Linked DNA regions of Homo sapiens: regions 1 and 3 are each linked to region 2. Evidence: promoter capture Hi-C in human tissues and cell types (Jung and others, 2019). All regions are on one chromosome and are shown on one strand. The core of a region is centred on a gene start or on the middle of the fragment in contact, and the rest is flanking DNA. Distances in the headings are between cores, read along the strand shown. Region 1 overlaps ARHGAP28 (Rho GTPase activating protein 28). Region 2 holds the start of TMEM200C (transmembrane protein 200C). Region 3 overlaps LAMA1 (laminin subunit alpha 1).

Evidence for each region. The method cuts DNA at HindIII sites, captures the fragments that hold promoters and counts their contacts. A contact is called where the count stands out against the background at its distance.
Region 1: a contact is called between a fragment that was not itself captured here and the fragment with the promoter of TMEM200C in region 2, in 1 of the 25 tissues and cell types used here (dorsolateral prefrontal cortex).
Region 3: a fragment that was not itself captured here is called in contact with the fragment with the promoter of TMEM200C in region 2 in 1 of the 25 tissues and cell types used here (hippocampus).

Annotation. Positions count from the first base shown.
Region 1 is chr18:6,905,942-6,910,060 of GRCh38, forward strand. It overlaps ARHGAP28 (Rho GTPase activating protein 28), which reads left to right. Exons shown (of 18, transcript NM_001366230.1): 17 at 3,019-3,083. Among named protein-coding and RNA genes, the nearest start is that of LINC00668, 22 kb to the right of the region's middle. The HindIII fragment of the contact is 3,706 bases long and covers 1-3,316 here.
Region 2 is chr18:5,894,156-5,898,028 of GRCh38, forward strand. It overlaps TMEM200C (transmembrane protein 200C), which reads right to left and starts at 1,367. Exons shown (of 2, transcript NM_001395400.1): 1 at 875-1,367. The region is part of intron 9 of MIR3976HG (MIR3976 host gene); the gene reads left to right. LOC121725015 (a long non-coding RNA gene) reads left to right here and starts at 1,572. Exons shown (of 3, transcript NR_172505.1): 1 at 1,572-1,931. The HindIII fragment of the contact is 12,914 bases long and covers 1-3,873 here.
Region 3 is chr18:7,029,444-7,033,556 of GRCh38, forward strand. LAMA1 (laminin subunit alpha 1) reads right to left here. Exons shown (of 63, transcript NM_005559.4): 15 at 3,541-3,652; 16 at 2,623-2,733. Among named protein-coding and RNA genes, the nearest start is that of LAMA1, 86 kb to the right of the region's middle. The HindIII fragment of the contact is 6,276 bases long and covers 1-4,113 here.

The DNA.
Region 1 (4,119 bases), core at 214-2,713, 1.0 Mb after region 2:
ACAGTAAAGATATCAATTCTCCCCAAATTGATCTATGAGTTTAATGCAATTCCTGTCAAAATTCCAGCATGATACTTTGTAAACATGCACAAGCTTATTCTACAAATATATATGGAAAAGCACAGGCCCTAGAATAACTAAAATATATTGAAAAAGAAAAATAAAGTAGGAGGAATCACTTTACTAGATATTAAGGCTGATTATATAAAAGGTAGAATAATCAAGATAGTATGATATTGGTGGAAGGATAGATACTTAGATCAATGGAATAGAATACAGAACCCAGAAATTGACCTACACAAATAGGCCCATCTGATTTTTAAAAGATTTTTATTGTAAACTATACATAACATAAAAGTATGTTTTAACCATTTCAAAGGGACAGTTCAATAGCACTAAATACATTCACATTGTTGTGCAACCATCACCGTCATTCATACCCAAAATCTTTTTCTCATCCCACACTGAGACTCTATACCCATTCTCCCTGCCTTTAGCCACTGGCAACCATTCTTCTCCTTTCTGTCTCTCTGAATTTGACTATTCCAGCAACTGATTTTGAGAAAACTACAAAAGCAATTTGATGGAGGAAGCCTTTTCAGTAAATGGTGTTGTAGCAATGGACATCCATAGGCAAAAAATAAATAAATAAACCTCGATCTAAACCTCACACCTATTCAAAAATTAACTCGAAATGGATCACAGACTTAAGTGTGTAGTGTAAAACTATAAAACCCTTAGAAAATAATGTAGGAGAAAACATTTATGATCTAAAACTAAAGAGTTCTTAGAGCTTGACATAAAAAATGTGACCCATAAGAAATAAAATTGATAAATTGACCTCACCAAAATGGAAAACTTATACTCTAAAAGACCATGTGAATAGGATGAAAAGACAAACTAAGGACTGGGATGAAATATTTGCAAAACCACATATCCAACAAAGGACTAGTATCTAGAATATATAAATAAAACACTCAAAGTTCAACAGTTAAAAAAACCAAACAATCCAATTTGAAAGTGGGCAAAAGACATGAACAGACACTTTACTAAGGAGATACAGATTACTTTTCACCAAAGAGATAAACAAATGGCAAATATGCCCATGAAAAGATGTTCAACATCGTTGGCCATTATGGAAATGGAAATTAAAACCACAATTGCATATTACTACACACCTGTGAGAATGGCTAAAATAAAAAATAGTGACAACACCAAATACAGGCAAAGATACAGAGAAACGGGATCACTCATTCATTTCTGGTGGGAATGTCAATAGTGCAGTCACTCCATAAAATAGTTTGGCAGTTTCTTAAAAAACTAAATCTCCAACTGCCGTATGACCCAGCACTGACACTCCTGGGCATTTATCCCAAAGAAATGAAGACCATGTTCACACACAAACCTGTTCACAAATGCTGATAGCAGCTTTATTTGTACAGTCAAAAACTGGAAAAAAAAAAAAAAAGCCTAGGTGTCCTTCAACAGGTGAGTGACTACAGAAACTGGCCCATCTATACCATGGAATACTACTCAGCAATAAAAATGCAGCAACTTGGGTAGATCTCTAGGGATTTATGCCAAGTGGGGAAAAAAAGGCAATACAAAAATGTTTCATACTGTGTGTTTCCATTTGTTTAACCTTTGTGAATTGACCAACTTACAGAAATGTAGAATAGGGAAGTGCTGCTGGGGGTGAGGGATGGAGATAGGGTAGGATGGGGAGAAGGAGTGAATGTGGCTATAAAGAGGCAACAGGGGGTGCCTTGTGGGGCTGGAAATGTTCTGCATCTTCCCTGAATGGGTGTCAACATTCTGGTCATGATACTGCACTAGAGTTTTGTGAGATGTTACTATTGAGAGAAATCGGTGTAGGGTGCACAGGATGCACCTGTATTACTTCTTAAAACTACGTGTGAATCTACAGCACCTCAAATGAAAGTTCAATTAAACAAAAAACAACAACAAAAAAAGAGGGCACACTTGCATCTTCCTCACAGTGGAGAGGCCAGGACAATCATTTGAAGTAACCAAGCTGAAAGTCACTCCTTGATGGGGATGGAGGTCAGCGATGGTCATTCAGACTCTTCTAACCCAGCATTCTAGTCTAGGGTGGAAAAATTAAATTGAGCGATAGTTTCCTGTGACTTGCTTTTATTTTATTTTATAGTTTATTTTATTTTGTTTTATTTTATTTTATTTTATTTTATTTTCGAGATGGAGTTTCACTCTGTCGCCCAGGCTGGAGTGCAATGGCACGATCTCCACCCACTGCAACCTCCTCTTCCCGGGTTCAAGCAATTCTCCTGCCTCGGCCTCCTGGGTAGCTGGAACTACAGGCACATGCCACCACGCCCGGCTGATTTTTTGTATTTTTAGTAGAGATGGGATTTTGCCATGTTACCCAGGCTGGTCTCAAACTCCTGACCTCAGATGATCCACCCGCCTCAACCTCCCAAAATGCTAGAATTACAGGCATGAGCCACCGTGTCCGGCCGTGACTTGCTTTTATTATGGGGCAGAGACTTGCAATGAAGTCAGCCTTAGACACCTTGCAAAGCTTGAGGCAAACTGAGAAATGTGACATGGGCTGATAATTCCATTCAATTTTTTGGCAAATGCAGAAATAAAACCTGACTTCTTTTGGATTGAGAGTAATATGGCCAATGACAAGGCAGTACTAAACACGCAGCTGCTCCGTGTCCAGCCTTGATGTGTCAGTAACAGTAACTAACCTGAAATGGAGCAGGCAGCTGTGGCCTGAATGGGCTCTATGTAGTGGAGCACTGCGGCTGCCCATCCTGGTGGGAGCAGTCCCGTCCTCCCTGGGCCTCAGCTTCTTGTCTGTGTCAGACGGAAAAACAATTATTTTTATCATAACTTCAGTCATGATACAGTTTTGTGGGACACATTTCGTCAAGGCAGAATGAATTGTTTGTTGCCTGGTTATTTAACATGCATTTTTACCTCAGATCAGGAAAAAGTACTAAAATTATATTATTTTCTCATTTTTTTCAGTCATGGTTCATCAGAATGTATTAAGATTCAGAACCAAAGGTTATATGAAATTGGAGGAAATATAGGTAAGCATACTGTAATAATTTCTACTGCTAAATTCTCTGATTACTCTAAAAGAAATATGTTGCTATAATCATAAAGGTATGTTTTATGAATTTCTCAGATAAAAACTAAAAATCAGTAGGTTTCTGATATTTTTATCTCATGTGGGAACAGTTGCACAGCTTTTCTAAAATGTTTTCAAAATTTAAATGAGAATATTTTAATGTTGATATGGAGTAGGCTTGGGTCTTTTCTTTTCTTTTCTTTTCTTTGCTTTTCTTTTCTTTTCTTTTCTTTTCTTTTTTTTTTGAGACAGAATCTTGCTCTGTTGCCCAGGTTGGAGTGCAGTGGAGTGATCTTGGCTCACTGCAACCTCCGCCTCCCGGGTTCAAGTGATTCTCCTGCCTCAGCCTCCCTAGTAGCTGGGATTGCAGATGCCCGCCACCACGCCCAGACAATTTTTATATTTTTAGTAGAGACGGGGTTTCACCATGTTGGCCAGGCTGGTCTCGAACTCCTGACCTCAAGTGATCCACCCGCCTCGGCCTCCCAAGGTGCTGGGATTACAGGTGTGAGCCACTGCGCCTGGCTGGCTTCGGTCTTTTCAGTGTGATTTGAAGTTGGAAAGTCTCTCTGGAGACTCTGCAAAACAAAGAGAATACTGTAAGAACTTTCAGAAGCATGACACCATTTTGATTAACTTCCCTATTTTAACTCTCCTCCCAAATTCATTCTTTCTATTTCCCTGGGGGAGCAGGGGAGGAATCAGCAAAACTTCCCCGCTTGGTCTGTGAATATCCTCACAGCCCCATGGGTGCTCCGTGCTCCCACTGAGGGCAGTGCCTCCTCTCACCAGCACCCTCCACTCTCCCACACCATCAGCCTTTCCCTCCCAACTGTAGCATTTCCATCTGCATTTTAAAAATTGGCAATTTCCCTCACCTTTATAAAATTATTTCTTCACCCCCCTTTAAGTCTACTCCCATTTCTCTGTTCCACCTTACAGCAAAAGCTTCTTGAATCAGTGTCTACGCTCCAATTTCTTCCTCCTTGTTATCT
Region 2 (3,873 bases), core at 117-2,616:
TCAGGTGCGCCGGGAGGCTGGATGCCTTGGGGGAGGAGGAAACCCACTTGGATTTCTCCTCAGCAAGGCAGCTTTGGCTCCGGTAGAATGTAAGGAAGGTTGGAATGGATTTCAACAGTCCTTTACCGCACATCTTTAAAATGAGTTTAATAGCTAGTAATTAACTCCCTCGTTTATTATTCCTTCAGCTCTGTTGAAGGCTGTACTCCCTTTTAATGTATCATCATCTGACACGAAATACAGACAAAGGTCAGATGCCACGGGAGACCCACCTTTGAGGTTTTCCTTTATACCTAATGAAAGAAAACAAACTTAGCAGTCAAGCTTGGCTGCCCTCGCAATTTACTGCCTGGAGCTGGTCTTACCGTGGTTAAAGAATGGAGGATGGGGGAAGCAAAGGAGGGATGTCTAAAAATACAACTGCTTCCAAGAGAGACATTCAAGTTCTCCGCTCAAGATGGATTAAGCCCCACTCTGAGGCTCGGAGGCTCGGATCCCACAGGCTGGGAGCGCTGTGCTGTGCCCGGTACCCAACCCAGGTCCTCGACCCCGGCCCCTCACTGGCAGGGCGGCGACCCCCTGGCCCCTGGCTTTGGTCTGCTTATTGATGTTAGCTGGAGTCACATGAGTGCAGCAGCTGGGAGTCCGCCTCTGGAAAGAAGACAGGCAGGAGCCAAGTGAGGGCAATCCTGAACTAGCTTTTTCTGGGCAGCGCATCCCGTGTAGCCAGCCCGGGAAAAAGCCTCTCACCGAACACCAGCCCGGGGCGCGGGGACTCGGGGACCCGAGGGGCGGGGAGGGGCCCCCAAGGGCTGGGGACTGGCAGAATTGCTCAAAATGGCAGCACTCTCCGCACGCAAGATCGCTCACTTACCCAGGGAGACCGAGGGAGGTCGGGGCCGGCGAACGGGCGCTCGGGCGACACAAAGGAACCATGGAGAAACTTTTTCAGCCCGAGCCGACGGCGGAGCGCAGGGACAGCGCCCCGGGGCCCCGCATCCGAGCGCGACTCAGCAGCCCCGCGGGGGCGAGCGCCCGCCCCAGGCTCGCAGTCCCCGCCGGCGCTGTGGCGGGAGCCATTTCCAAGAGTTTCCAAGAAGTGTCAGGTCCTCCGCATCCCGCATCCCGCATCCCGCCTCGGAGCCCTCCTCTCCGCCGCTCATCCTCCAGCTCCCGGCGTCCCCTAGCGCGGCGCTCCCGGGCGGGCCCCTGCGGCCGCGCCGCCGGCCCTCGCGCCTCTTTTGTGTGGCTGCGGCGCGCCGGGCTCCGCCGGGTGGAGTTGAGCCCGCGGCGGCGGCTCGGGGCGGCCGGACTGGCGGCTGTTGCTAAGAGACCGGAGCCATGACACAGGGAAATTGCGGCAGGGTGGCGGTCGGGGCCCGCCCGGCTCGGCGGAGTCGGGGGGCGCCCCCGCCCCCGCCCCCCGCCCCACCCCCTCCTCCGGCGCCCCCCCCCACGCCGCCGGCCTTCCCCGCTCCCCCGCGTCCTCCGCCGCCCGCCGCCCGTCCCTTCGGAAGCGCCGATTCCTCGGGGAGGAGGAGGCGTGAGGGGAGGCGGCGGAGGCAGCCGGCACGGGGCGCTCGGGCCGCGGGGCAGGGGGCGCGGGGTGCCTCCTCGGCCTCGGCTCTCCCCGCCCCGGGGCGCCCCGAGACCGCCGCCTGCCTCCGCGGGCAGCTTTGTTCTTCTTTCCTCCAACTACCTGTCTGAGCCGCGGGCCCCAGAGGCCCCAAAGAGAGGCCCGGAGGGTCTCCCCAGCAGCATCCGAGGGGCGCTCTCGGGGAGCTAGGGGCCAGAGTCCGCGGTCCCTCCGTGCCTGCCTCCCTCCCCTCGTGCCTCGGTCTTTTGTTGCCTCTACTCCTCGGCACGGCGCAGCCTGGGCTCTCTTCCCCCTCCCGCTTGGGAGTTTGCAGTGTGGACGCTCGGCAAGCACAGTAAGTTGTCCCCCAGCGAACTCGGGCCCGGGCGGAGTGGAGCCGCCCCCGCCGGGACGGGCGCACCGCGGGACGCTTGGAAGCCTCTGCCAGATGCGCTCGCGCTCCAGCCCCGCCGGGCTTTGTGACCAGCCTGACCGGGACCCGGCAGCTGGGGCTCCTCGGAGATCAGAATGGGCTCCGGGGCTCTTCCTTGGGCAGCCCCTCCTGCTCCTCCCCGGTGCGGTAATCAGCAAGCATTAAAAGGAAAACTATAATTCTCCAGGAATCAGGAATCAGGGTTGGAATCAGAGAGGGGAGGTGGGGGTAGGGAGGATGTCCAAACTCCCTACGTCATTTAAAAAAGAGAGAAGGCGAGAGAGAGAGAGAAAGAGATCGAGATCCTGTTTCCTAGTTCATCCCTGTCTTCTCAACTGTAAAGTAAAAATGACAGGGAAAAGAGAATTTCAAAGTGGAATTTCCCCAAAGAGTATTGAGAAAGTGAGAAAGATTTCATTTATCTATTGAAATGAGGCAGCCAGGATTCAGGAAGAAAGGAACAGAAGAGCAGATGAAGCAAGTGCTGTCTGAAATTTTGGATCCAGATAAATATTTTGGTGGTGGTGGGTGTTATATATTCTGAGTTTTGCTGCTTAGGGGTCCACAAAACCCACACAGGAGGGCTCTGCTGCCCGCAGCTCCTGTTACAAGATTGTTCCCCACATACACAGCATTCACTTGTGCTTAAATCTAGAGCAGACACTTTTCAAAAAGAACAATAAAGACAACCAATTTACAAGTTCAATGATATAAATGTGAACAGTGATCTAAGAGATGGGGATAGAGACGGTGGGGGACAGGAGGGAACGAAGCAGAAGTGTTTTCTAAAAGGCAACCCTGCATTCACCTGTTGGAAAGGTGGCCTCTGTCACCCTTTTCAAGCAAATAACGAATCTGAATGATGATCAGGGTGTCCGGAACCCACCGCCTTCCCCCTACCTATTCATGCTCAGATTCAGGCTATTAGAAAACAAACCATAATGAAGGGAAAGTTTTAAATCCCACATTGGGTTGTTTCCTTTTAGAGAAATCACTGCAAAGGAAAAATAATAAGATCTAGTTGTCGTTTTCTAAAGCCTTTTTGGCTCTGAACTTCCAGATCTCCTGAATCCCAATAATAATCTGGTATTTTTTACAAAGATTGGGCCTACAGTCTCATTTCATTGCACAGCTAGCTGCCAGAGTCTATGGGCGGCAGTTCCTGTGCTCTGTTTGCTGGGCTGTACAAACAGGAATAATACTGCAGAACTTCATTAGGATTTTAGGTGGATTAAACTGCTAATAGTTTCAAGTTTCTGTGTAAATTATAGCCATCATTTGCACATTTAAAACTCATTTGAGGGATTTGGAGAAGAAAAGAATTCTTTTCTAGACAAAGGGCCTTGGGACATAGCTAGTTTTGTCTTATGTTGATGATTGCAACAAAATTTATGGCTTATTACTCAAAGGCTTCCTTCCAAACTGCGCTTTTTGGAACTTTGAACTGTTTAACCTGAATGTTATCACGTTCAGTAGTTTTCTTTGTTTTCAGCTCATGGTATCAGAGGAAATCAAGCAGATCACATCTGTTTCCAGCGGAGTCCGTTATCCCCTCTGTAATACAGAATCAACATACATTCCCAGGGGCTTTCAAGTTATTAGAGTTATTTTTAAAGGAACAAGGATACTCTTGGCCCTTCTGGCGTTATTTTCCTTCTAATCTCCCTGGCCATTTCAGTTTGGATGATTTCCGAGACTGTGGGACCCCACTTTCACCGTGCTAAGGACTGAAAGGCTACAACTACCTAGTCTTAATAATTCACTAGTGTCTCCAGATTTTGGAGCTCAGCACAGCCTTCTGACCTTGTAGCAGGGAACATAATGAAGGCCCTGGGAAAGTAAGAGAAGAGGATGAAGATTAGCT
Region 3 (4,113 bases), core at 603-3,102, 1.1 Mb after region 2:
TATTTGATAATGCTCATTTGGAACATGTCTATGGTATGTTTTCTTTGATCAAGGAGTCAGATAGTGCTTTCTTTCTCTTTGGGGAAACTAGTATGTAGTTCTGTTGAAAAACCCACTGAGGGTCTGTTTCAGTGCTTTTTCAGGCGTGTGCCACCAGCCCTTTACCTGACTGTCCCTGTTGGTGAATCTGGTATGTGAAGGAATGAGACTATTCCTCTCCTTGGGGAGGAAAAACATCTTTCGATTGAAAAAAGAAAGACATGAGGGCCCAAGACATGCACAATTTACTGTGATGCCATTCTCTTTTCTAAATCATGCCAAGCTGCAAGGAAAATACACAGACTTCTCCTTTGAATAAAGAGCTAAGAGAGCTCAGAGAGAAAAACAGGGGCTCTAAGAGCAACTGGAACCTCATCTCTAATGAACTGTGAATAAAGAATTAACTCCTGGAAGCTAGATAGTTATACGCAAGGCCCAGGGCTATGAACAACTACACAAAAGGAAGAATTCAAGCTTGTTTTTACAATATATTAGAAAAAAAAAAACCAGCAAGGTTAGATTTAACAGATATATGATGCTACCACGTTTTTTGTATTTCCTTAAATTCTAATTTAAATTTTTATTATTTTTGCCCTCTCAAACATTAATTAAGAAGGGAGAAATAGTAACTTCAGAGTGGAAAAACCTAGCAGACATCACCTAATTCAAGTGACCCAGATTAAGATCCCCAGGAAGAAGACACAATGATATCCTATCCATCTGCTCTCAATGAGAGGGCACGGCACCTCCACGTCTTCTGGTCAAAAATGTGTAACCTCAACCTAGTCATAAGAAAGCATCAGACAAGCCCTGGCTGGGGGACATTCCACAGAATGCTCAGTGCTCTTCAAAAGTGTCATAGTCATGAAGGACAAGGAAGTCTGAGGAACTTTCCTAGAGGAGAGGAGACTAAAAAGGCAAAGTCACTGAATGGTGTGGGGTCCTGGGTTCGATCCTACAAAAAAAAGGAGCATGAGTGAAAAACTGATGAAATCAGAATGTGGGGTGTAGTTCATCTTATCGTGCTACTTCTTCATTCTGATAACTCCACTCTAGTTATGCAAGATGGTAGCATTAGGGGATGCTGGGGGAAGGTTACTTCAGAACTCTCTGTACTTCTGTAACTCTTTCATAGCTCTTCTGTAAGTCTAAAATTATTTCCAAAACATGTTTAAAGCTATAAAATTATTATTTATTAAAATTAAAGCTTTAAGGCCAGTTGCTATTTAGCATTATCACTTTAATGTGAATATATATTTGTAAACATACATTAATGGAAGCATGAGAAATCTACTCTTTCAGCCTAGCTACAAAAGACATAAGTGGCAGAACCACAGCCTGCTGTACCCCCCACCCCACCCCACCCCAAATGCTGGCAGGAGGCCTTGCAAACCCAAATGGCAAAGGAAAGGAGGTGAAAAAAAAAGCAACCACCTCATCAAGCGGTTGGAAGCTGTGCACCTGAGGAAAGCAATCCTGGAGGGACTGAGTCTGCCCGTAAACCACCCCTTCATGCAATTCCTACAGAAGCTTTACTTACAGAACAAAGGGCAAAACAAAAGTTTTACTTACAGAATAAAGAAAAATTAAGTTCTAAGCCATCCTGGACATAAGCCATCCTGGACATCATTCTAAGATCTTCTCCCTGGGTCTGGTAATTAATTTTCCCTAACTCTGTGACTCAGTCAATCTCTTTTGGAAAAAGCATGAACATTTCCCTGCCAGGCGACCAGGGTACAGCTGATCAGCATATGCAGTCACTCCACCTCTGAGGATCAAACCCATGAGACCCCAGAGTGTGGCCTGGCTTCAGGGCATAGGGCCTAGAAGAATTCCTGATTGAAGTTAAGAAACAAGTCTTGCCCCACACCTGCCCCAAAGTTCATTCTCAAGATTAACTACCTATTTCTTAAGCCCTATTTCAACTCATATTGCATGAAAGAAGTACCTGTTTGATTAATTTATCCCAACTAACTATAAAGCATGGTATATAAGTGAGTGTGATTATACTTTATTCTTCTTCTTAGGGTATATTATGTAATATCATGATTTAAAAAAAATACTAGCATTGTCTGTGGCCTCAGCTACTTGGAGGGTTGAGGTGGGAGGACCATTTGAGCCCAGAAGATCCAGGGCTGCAGTAAGCAGTGTTGGTGCCACCACACTCCAGCCTGGGTGACAAGGTAAGACCCTGTCTCAAATAAATAAATAAATAAATATTAGCACTGTCATCTAAAGATCCTATGCTTTGTATTTAATAAGTAGACAACATTTTTTTACCTTTCTATTGCTTTATAGTCTCAGCAAATAAAAACAATTACTTTATATTAATCTAATAAAAAGAACTATAATGAAGTTGTATATCCCTTTTCCACTATTACCAAAGTAACTTTTTTCAAAAAAAAAACAAAAAAAAAAACGGGAAACATTTCATGACATGAGCTTAAATCTGTAAATTTTCTTTGGGGTCTATGAGGCTAGGGTTATTCCGTGGAGGAAGCACTTAAAAAAAAATCACTTGTACACAGCAAATGGCTCTGAATTGAGGAGGAGAGGGCACCTGAACTACAGTGAGAGACTCACAATGCAAACGCCGTGAACATTACACTCAGCTGCATGGCCGTGGCATTCACAGGGTTGACAAATTCCTCCAAAGAGTATTCCATCCACGCGGTAATAGCCAGAGAGGCACGACTGCAAGAGAAGGGAAAGTCATCCTCTTTCCACTACGTTACAAACAGAAACTGCTCAGTTGCCAGAGTACAGAAATGTCTTTTTTCTTAAACATCTTAACTGAGGTATCATTTACATGCTACACAATTCACCCATTTTAAGTGTACAATTCAATGACTTTTAGTAAAAACCTTACCGAGCTGTGCAACCATCACCATAATCCAGTTCCTTATTTCTTTTTAAAGGTAGAAACACACACACAAAAACGTAATGGTTGTGCAATGAGTCTTACGGCCTATTCTTGTTATGGTATTAATATCAATATGTTTGTCCAAGTGATTTCAAAATATTTTTAGCAACAGATTACTTTCATTGAGGATTCCAAGCGCATTTTCATATATTTCACATGTAAGGTGGAGCCCACCAAAGTAAAATAGCGAGGGGCCATAAAAGGTCTCAAAATAGGGCTGGCTTGTCTAAAGCTACCCAGGTCACATGCTGGTGATTTGTAAATGTTCAGATATGATCAAGTTCCATCCTCCTTAGAAACACAGTCAATGGCATGAGTATTGCAAGTTTCTTGTTGACTAAGGCAAGAGGGCAGCACTAAGTCAGAATATTGTCCGGTGCTCCAGCCCATTCCTGGTGGAGGAATCTGATTTTTTTAAACAATGTGACTTCTAATATTTCTATTGCCCAAAAAAGACTGAGCCAAACATTGGGCTGCTAAAGCTAAAAATCAAATGTTTGCCATGACATCCCCTTCAGTGCACTGTTTTCCCCTTAGGAAGGAACGAAAGGAAAAAGACAGGAAGAGAGAAGCGTCACCTCACAGGAGGTCCCTGTGTAGCCTTGCGGACATTCACAGTGCTCCACATCAGCGGCCACCACCAGGTCGATGGCATTAGAGCTGGCTATGTCCAGAGAGACGGACTCCAACCTACAAATAGACAGATTGTTATGTGACTCACACGCTCGCAAATACATCTCACATCTCAATGAAGATGGGCTCCTAAAAGATTTAAATCCGGCCGGGCGCAGTGGCTCACGCCTGTAATCCCAGCACTTTGGGAGGCCAAGGTGGGTGGATCACGAGGTCAAGAGATCGAGACCATCCTGGCTAATATGGTGAAACTATTAAAAATACAAAATTAGCCGGGCGTGGTGGCATGTGCCTGTAGTCCCAGCTACTCAGGAGGCTGAGGCAGGAGAATCGCTTGATCCTGGGAGGCAGAGCTTGCAGTGAGCTGAGATCACGCCACTGCACTCCAGCCTGGGTGATAGAGGGAGACTCTGTCTCAAAAAAAAAAAAAAAGACTTAAATCCAATAAAAGGGTGATGTGATTTTTGTAAATAACTAAAGGTCTTTCACAACAATATATTATCTGGGAGCCATCATTA